3 separate regions of the Homo sapiens genome follow, and all the other regions are linked to region 3. Evidence: promoter capture Hi-C in human tissues and cell types (Jung and others, 2019). All regions are on one chromosome and are shown on one strand. The core of a region is centred on a gene start or on the middle of the fragment in contact, and the rest is flanking DNA. Distances in the headings are between cores, read along the strand shown.

Evidence for each region. The method cuts DNA at HindIII sites, captures the fragments that hold promoters and counts their contacts. A contact is called where the count stands out against the background at its distance.
Region 1: a contact is called between a fragment that was not itself captured here and the fragment with the promoter of RIPPLY2 in region 3, in 1 of the 25 tissues and cell types used here (lymphoblastoid cells).
Region 2: a contact is called between a fragment that was not itself captured here and the fragment with the promoter of RIPPLY2 in region 3, in 1 of the 25 tissues and cell types used here (lymphoblastoid cells).

The regions. Positions count from the first base shown.
Region 1 is chr6:84,186,832-84,189,587 of GRCh38, forward strand. The region is part of intron 11 of CEP162 (centrosomal protein 162); the gene reads right to left. Among named protein-coding and RNA genes, the nearest start is that of CEP162, 39 kb to the right of the region's middle. The HindIII fragment of the contact is 6,083 bases long and covers 1-2,756 here.
Region 2 is chr6:84,343,109-84,345,808 of GRCh38, forward strand. No RefSeq gene overlaps it. Among named protein-coding and RNA genes, the nearest start is that of CEP162, 120 kb to the left of the region's middle. The HindIII fragment of the contact is 3,479 bases long and covers 1-2,700 here.
Region 3 is chr6:83,851,975-83,854,773 of GRCh38, forward strand. It overlaps RIPPLY2 (ripply transcriptional repressor 2), which reads left to right and starts at 1,386. Exons shown (of 4, transcript NM_001009994.3): 1 at 1,386-1,537; 2 at 1,721-1,799; 3 at 2,123-2,187. The coding sequence starts at 1,443. It overlaps RIPPLY2-CYB5R4 (RIPPLY2-CYB5R4 readthrough), which reads left to right and starts at 1,386. Exons shown (of 18, transcript NR_174604.1): 1 at 1,386-1,537; 2 at 1,721-1,799; 3 at 2,123-2,187. The HindIII fragment of the contact is 6,654 bases long and covers 1-2,799 here.

The DNA of each region.
Region 1 (2,756 bases), core at 245-2,744, 330 kb after region 3:
AATGCAGTATAATGCAAAGGATTATAAAGGTGATGCTGAGATCTATTTTAGAGAAAGACCAAACCAAACAAGACTGAGACTGCTTTTGTAGAAGAAAAGTAAAATACAAATTTCTAAGTGAACTTTTTGTAATATATCTTTTATCTACAATTTCTTATAAAGTCGACATGCATTTGAAATAAGAAAAACATTTTAAACATTTCTAGAAGAAACTAAAGAAATAATCATAAATTTGTATTAAGGAGGCATAGAGTATAAATACTAAAAAAGCATATATTTAATCACAGTATAGGAAAAATTTTAATGTAAAACAGAAAAATCACTAGGCTTTGAAAAGAAAATCATTTCTGTGGTTTAAAACACTTAAATGTAACAATTCAATTAGATATTAAATACCTAGAAGATACAACGTAAGGAAATGTTTTAAATGCGGTTAAATATTGGCAAACTACAGGGTCTCCAAAAATATGGGAACTGTTAGTCTTAAAATATTTAATCGTGTGTCAATTAGGCCATTTAATTTTATAATTTATAAAATAAGATTAAAGAATGTTTAAGAGGCTACCATTTTCATATAATGTAGATTGGCTTCTTGGTAACTGCTAGTAGGTGGAATCATCAGAAATATAATAGTTCTTTCCTTCTTCATAGCAGCAGAACCTGGCTAGATGCTAATCAAAATTGTTTCTCATTCTTGCTGGGTACCAACTAAACTATATTTCCTTGCCAACTTCCATCTAGATGGGACCATTTACTAGTTTTTCCCTTTAGAATGTGAGTGCTATGATGCTAAGAACCCAACTTATTTGTTACTGGCTTAGTTGTCAAGTTTAGGATGGCAGGAAACTGATAACTAGAGTCTGGAGAGACGGCAGCCTATGTTTTACAGTGGCAAAACATTGCTAAACTGTCATCTACAAAAGTTTATAAGGCAGACCACATGCCAGCCGACCATGGAGAACTAAGAGAAATGACTGGAAAGAACAAGGAGTTAAGTGCTGGCTACTATTAGCTTCTTTTAACAAGATATTACCAAAAAACTGATGAGCTCAACACAGAATGAGCTGGTTTGTAAGCAGAATTTAAAGAGAATAGAAGGAATCTAGAAACTCTGGAAATGGGTTCTCTCTCTGTAGACTCAGTCTGTAAGATTCAGCCTTGAAGAATGCTATGAAAAAGCAAGATTTCAAGAGACTTCTTGGTTGAAAAGAGTGACCCAGTCCCTTAGCAAAGATCATATTAAGAGTGTCATCCAGAGTGAGACTCCGTCTCAAAAAAAAAAAAAAAAAGAGTGTCATCTTCACATTTAAGTATTGTTTCCCCAAATATCCAGAGAACTGCAAATAAACGCAGAGAAAAAAATTAGAGGGACAAGGAATCAAATATTAAAGCAGATTTAAAACCTTTGTCTAGCAAAGAACTTTTTTTTTTTAAACTTTTATTCCAGGTTCAGGGATACGGGTATTGTTCACGGGGATTTGGTGTTCAGACTATTTCACACCCAGGTAATAAGCATAGTACCCAATAGGTAGTTTTTCGATCTTCACCCTCCTCCCAACCTCTCAAGTAGGCCCCAGTGTCTGTTGTTCTCATCTCTCTGTCCATATGTACTTGATGTTTAGCTCCCACTGATAAGTGAGAACATACAGTATTTTGTTTTCTGTTCCTGCATTAGTTTGCTTAGGACAATGGCCTCTAGCTTCATCCATGTTGGTGCAAAGAACGTGACCTCATTCGTTTTTATGGCTGCATGGTATTCCATGGTGTACATGTATCACACTTTCTTTATCCAGTCTACCACTGATGGGCATATTTAGGTTGATTCCATGTCTTTGATCTTGTGAACAGTGCTGCAATGAACATATGCATGCATATGTCTTTATGGTAGAACAATTTATATTCCTTTTGGTATATATCCAATGATGAGATTGCCGGGTGAATAGTAATTCTGCTTTAAGTTCTTTGAGAAGTCGCCAAATTGCTTTCCACAATGGCTGAACTAATTTACATTCCCACCAGCAGTGTATAAATGTTCCCTTTTCTCTGCAACCAGCATATTTTTTTTTGTTTTTTACTTTTTAATAATAGCTATTCTGACTGGCATGAGATGGCATCTCATTGTGGTTTAATTTGTATTTCTCTAATGATTAGTGATGTTGAGCATTTTTTCAAATGCTTGTTGGCTGCACGTCTTCTTTTGAAAAATGTCTGTTCATGTCCTTGCCCACTTTTTTTTTTTGAGATGGAGTCTCGCTCTGTCACCAGGCTGGAGAGCAGTGGTGTGACCTCGGCTCACTGAAACCTCTGCCTCTTGGGTTCAAGCGATTCTCCTGCCTCAGCCTCCCGAGTAGCTGGTGAGAGGTGACAGCATGCTGGCAGTTCTCAGAGCCCTCGCTTGCTCTCGGCACCTCCCCTGCCTGGGCTCCCACTTTGGTGGTATTTGAGGAGCCCTTCAGCCCCCCACTGCACTGTGGGAGCCCCTTTCTGGGCTGGCCAAGGCCAGAGCCCACTCCCTCAGCTTGCAGGGAGGTGTGGAGGGAGAGGCACGAGCGGGAACCGGGGCTGCGTGCGGCGCTTGCGGGCCAGCTGGAGTTCCGGGTGGGCATGGGGTTGGTGGGCCCCGCACTCGGAGCAGCCAGCCAGCCCTGCTGGCCCTGGGCAATGGGGGACTTAGCACCCGGGCCAGTGGCTGCAGAGGGTGTACTGAGTCCCCCAGCAGTGCTGGCCCACCGGCGCTGCGCTCGATTTCTCGCCGG
Region 2 (2,700 bases), core at 192-2,691, 490 kb after region 3:
AAGATGCTGCAGTTACTAAGGCATGAAGACATGTTCCAAACTCAGATATGTCCAAAAGTAAAATCCCTCATATAATGACTACTAATTTCATATTTGCCATTCACTAACTTTGTGCCTTGGGAAAGCATGTAATCTCCCCGGGCTCAATTTCCTCATGAAATGAGGAATTTGGACTAGATGATTTCTAATATCCCTTCCAGTTCCAGTATTTTTATCTTTATTCTGAGAAATTAACATTGAATTTCTTAGTATAGACTGTAAAGGTTCACCACTTTGGAGCACTGACTAGTGGAACTCACTAAGATAATTAATCAAATGGGGGAGAAAATGATTAATTATATAAATATGAGCAATTGCTTAATACTCCAACACAAAATTATGATAGACCCCAGGAAGCCTAATGAGGATTCTATAACCTTGCTGCTGAACCAAAAACTAAAGAATCTTTGGTTCAAGCTCCTCCTGACTTACTCCCCAGCTGTAGGTAGGGAAGCTGATAAAGAGAAAGAGAGAGAACAATGTGCATTTTTCTGTTATATGCAGGGAGTCTACCTACTGAAAGGGGGCCCAGTGGACATGGAACTCTAAGATAAGGCATTCTTCCTGGGCAGCAGTGAGTATAGGTGAGTGTGCAGAGAATAAAAATAACCCATCCCAAACTCTTCCCTGCCTTGAAAGAGAAGATAGAAATCCTCTCCTCTATCAGCAGAGGCAGAAATACAAGGCGATCATAAATATTTTCCCAGTTTGTTGACTCTGCCTAATATAGTTTGGATATTTGTTCTTGCCCAAATCTCACGCTGAATTGTAATTTCCAATATTAGAGACAGGGCCTGGTGGAAGGTGATTGGATCATGGGGGTGGATCTCTCATGAATGATGGTGTATTAGTCTGTTCCCACACTGCTATAATGAACTCCCTGAGACTGGGTGATTTATGAAAAAAAAGAGGTTTAATTGACTCCACAGGCTGTATAGGAAGCATGGCTGGGATGTCTCAGGAAACTTACAATCATGGGGGAAGGCAAAAGGGAAGCAAGCTCATTTTCTCATGGTGGCAGGAGAGAGAGAGTGAAAGGGGAAGTGCTACACACTTTTAAACAGCCTGATATCGTGAGAACTCACTCACTATCATGAGAACAGCAAGTGGAAAATCTGCCCGTGTGATCCAGTCACCTCCTACTCGGTCCCTCCCCCAGCAATAGGAATTAAAATTTGACCCAAGATTTGGGTGGGGACACAGAACCAAACCATATCAAATGGTTTAGCACCATCCTCTTTTTGCTTTTTTGCCATAGTGAGTTCTTGTGAGATCCGGTCTTTTAAAAGTGTGTGGCACCTCCCCTCCCCACAACTGTCTCTCTTTTTCTTGCCCCTGCTTTTGCCATGTGAAATGTCTGCTCCTGCTTTGCCTTCTGCCATGAGTAAAAGCCCCCTGAGGCCTCCCCAGAAGCAGATGCTGCTATGCTTCTTGTACAGCCTTCAGTACTGTAAGCCAACTAAACCTCTCTTTTTATAAATTGCCCACTTTCAGGTATTTCTTTATAGCAATGCAAGAACAGTTTGATACACTGCCTAAATCCCTTTTTCCCCTAGTCAAGCTCAAAATAAACTATGTCCTGTTAAAAAGAAGGTTAGCAGTTTATGAGGTAACTCCTGGCCCATATACATGAGACTGTTCACTTCTACAAGCTCTGCTCTTTCTATGTTCTAAGACAATGAGATGAGCAATTCAGCTGTTGTCTCAAAGCCTCTGAAATGGATCAGAGAAAGAATTCTTAGTTAACCTTAGATAGCTCTCTTATGTATAGTCAACAGTTTCTTTTCATGGGGACAGGTGAAATTATGAGAAGCTTCCTATTAGCACACATGCATGCATACACACACACAACCCTCTCCAGCTCCCAAATTATCTGTCCCTTTCCCTTGGTATTAAAATTTCTTGAAAAAGTAGTCTAAATTCATTGTCTAATTATGTCACCTCTCACCTCTCAACTGACTCCTTTCTGGCTTCTTAAATTAAAACCTCTCTATCTAATCACCATCGACTTCCATATCACTAAATCCAAAGGGCAGTTTTCAATCCTCATCTCACACAATCCATCAGAAACATTTGAAATTGGAGTCAACTTTTTATCAGAAACATCCTCTTTACTTGAAACACCTTCATACCATCAAAACCAAGCATTAAGAGGTTAGGGGCCCATATTCCTTTGGTTTTTCTCTTCCCTCTCTGGCCCCTCCTTCTCAGCCACCTTGAAAGAACATTCATCCTTACCCATCTAGACATTAAATGTTCAAGTTCCATGAGCCTCTGTTCTATGCTCCCTTCTTTCACTATATAATTTTTCCTTATTCAGTATCATTCATAGCCATGGCTTGATTTCTGACTTATGAATAATACAACCAAATGTTGCAAATTTATTTCTCAAGCAGAAACCTCTCATCTGAGCTGCTGGCTCATATATTGTGATTGCTTGGCATATCTACTTAGACATCTCAAAAGTTCCTCAAACTCAGATTGAATTTATGATCCTCCCTCCAAGCTTCCTACAGTGTTCCCTGTCTCAGTGAATTACACCGGCGCTCATCCATTTAATTACTTAAGTCAGAAACCAAGTAGCAATCTTGGATACTTTCCATAGTCTAATATCTAGTGTATAATCAAGTCCTGTCCACTATTACTTCTTTATAATAAAAT
Region 3 (2,799 bases), core at 136-2,635:
TGGAACTGAAATAATAAGCCATTTTATCAGAAAGGTTAACATCTGTTAAGGCCTTATATTTTTTTACGTAGCTTAAAATCTGTTGAAGGCTTACTATATGCCAGGCACTGCAAAACGCATTTTATAAGCTTTATTTTATTTAGCCTAACAATAACTGTAGGGGATGCAGACATGCATTAGGTATCTATCCTTACTGATTTTCTTATCAGAAGCAACCCAAATCTCACCTTCCTGGCAGGTAGATCATTATAGGCTCTTAGCTACTATTAATAATTAAATTATTTTCCTATGCAGTAGCTGAATGAATAGCAGAGACAACTATAGTTTACAATCAAGATTTTTGTCTAAACTTTTAAGAGAAAGTCCAGTTTTATTATTTAAAACATTTTGAAAAAAATTATAACATTTATATATCATCTTTTCCTCGATGCATAACACTTTTTACAAAGTTTAGTGGTAGATAAGTGAGGGGTAACTCAAATCAGAGAAACAGGGGTGCAGACGTTTGATTAACTTGTCTCATATCATAACTTTTCAAGATTTCATTATCATTCCACAACACTGCCCTCAAAAAAGAATTTTGTAATTACCATTGAGTGACAAAATACCAAGTAGTGACAGAGGTGTATAGACGAACTCAAAAGTTATTGTAGGAGGACACTGATAAAATGTTGGGGAAAATCACAAAAGACACGAGAAGATAATTTAGAGCTCTATGCCCAAATCACATGACTCCAGTCTCTGGCTCTCTTAGCCAGAACAGCGAATCTTTTACAATTTACCTCTTGTTGCCAATAATTTTCTATTATCTTCAAATAATAATAGGCTGGAGTATGAACCTAGTTTATCAATACTTTTTTAAAAAACCGACATTCCTCTCTTAAGGAGTCCATGCATTCTCCCCATTTTTTAGAAAATTGTTCCATGAAGAGGAATTAAGTTTATTCCTTTGAATTCTAGTCTGCATCCCAGCTTTTAGAACACGGGATGCAGAACCAGTTGATTTGCCACAGGCCAAGTCCTGAGTCTCCAGCGAATCAAGCAATTAACCAGTCACTTGGCCTTTTTGCAGAAATCCACAAAACGTGTAGACTCGCTTAATTCCATCTCCTCCTGGCCTCTTCACACGGAAATTGGCTGCTCGGGCGAATGTTGTTTTTCTCCGCAGCCATGTGTCGAAGGGCGATTAACATTCGCTCGACAAAACCCTGTCCCGGGCCATTTGGGAGTTGCACGCGTTCACACCCGGGGCTCAGCCCGGTGCGCCTTCACGCGCAGCCTTTTTGTTTATGCGGCTAGCAGGGAGAGGGGCGGAGAGGCAGCGAACCTCTCAATGTGCAGCAGGCCGCGAGGGCTATATAAAGCTCGGGTCTCGGACCTACTGGAACTGGTCAAGATTGCCCGCGAGCTGGCAGCGGCCTTCCGCCCAGCTCTGCGGCGTCATGGAGAACGCGGGAGGCGCAGAGGGTACAGAGAGTGGAGCTGCGGCGTGCGCGGCCACCGACGGCCCTACGCGGCGCGCGGGCGCGGACTCCGGGTAGGCTTCCCCGCGCTGCTCTGCGCCTCCCAGCTTCCCCCGTCTCTCCCTCCTGCGCCTCCCCAGCTCCTCCCCTCCAACTCTCCATCCCCCACTGCCCGGTGCCAGCGCTCGGCTTCGGTGGATTCTCCCGGGTCTGGGCTCACGTCTCCTCTGCGCGCCTTGTGCTCCCCTATCCCGCAGATACGCAGGCTTCTGGAGACCCTGGGTGGACGCCGGAGGCAAGAAAGAAGAGGAGACGCCGAACCACGCCGCGGAGGCGGTGAGTGAGCCACGCGTCTCAGGCCGCGCCTCCCACGGGTGCAGAAGATCGACCAGGGCTCTCGGGACGCAGGGCCTGAGAGAGACATGCGAGACACCGGGTCCTGCCTCTCGCTTAACATCCCGCCTGCCGGTGGCCATAAAGGTGCCGACGCGGCGGATGTGTCCTCTGGAGCGATGGGCCACAGGCACCCAGCCGGGAGCGAGGCTGCTGAGAGCCCTGGGGTTACATTCCCAGCGGGCACGAGGAACACTGGGTCGTGCACGTTTCCACTTTCTAGAAGGAGGTGGGTGATAACTGGATTCACTTCCTTTCCTCTCCAGATGCCCGATGGCCCTGGAATGACCGCAGCCTCAGGAAAGCTTTACCAATTCAGGCACCCAGTCAGGTGAGTGACAGGCCTCGCCGAAGGTCTCCCGCTCCTCCAGCCCCAGGGAGGAGCCAGGGGCATCGCGCAGCCCAGCTCCGCAGCTGGTCCTGCAGTCTCTCTCTCTCTCTCTGAAAATCTGGCTTCAAGGTTACTTATCTTCTCACTCATCAAATTGAAAAAGGTAGGGGCTCACGGTCCCACGTAAAGGGACTGTTGATGAATACATACTCAGTGAACTTGATGAATATATTACGAAGAGGGAAAGGGGATGATATGGTAAGAGAGCGGTGACATCTTGTGCTGGCAAAACAGTTTTTATTTTTAAATCCTAAAGGGTTCGAATGAAATTGACTTCGCATCAGGCAGAGTGTGTATGCTGCTTTTGTCTTGCAATCTGGAAGGAAGAATGGGATTAACAGTTACAGTCTTACAAGTTTGCCGAGTAGGAAAAAATAGAAATGTAATGAAAATCCTAAAGATTATTGAGAATGGTTATAGAAAGGGTCAAAAGTTTATTTAACTTGCGGAGCTAGTTTACTGTTCCTAGTCACAGGAAGTCAGCCTTTATCTAAGATTCTGTGTCACTTTTATTCAGGTGAAATGTTAAGAATTCTGCAGTTTTCCTGCCTC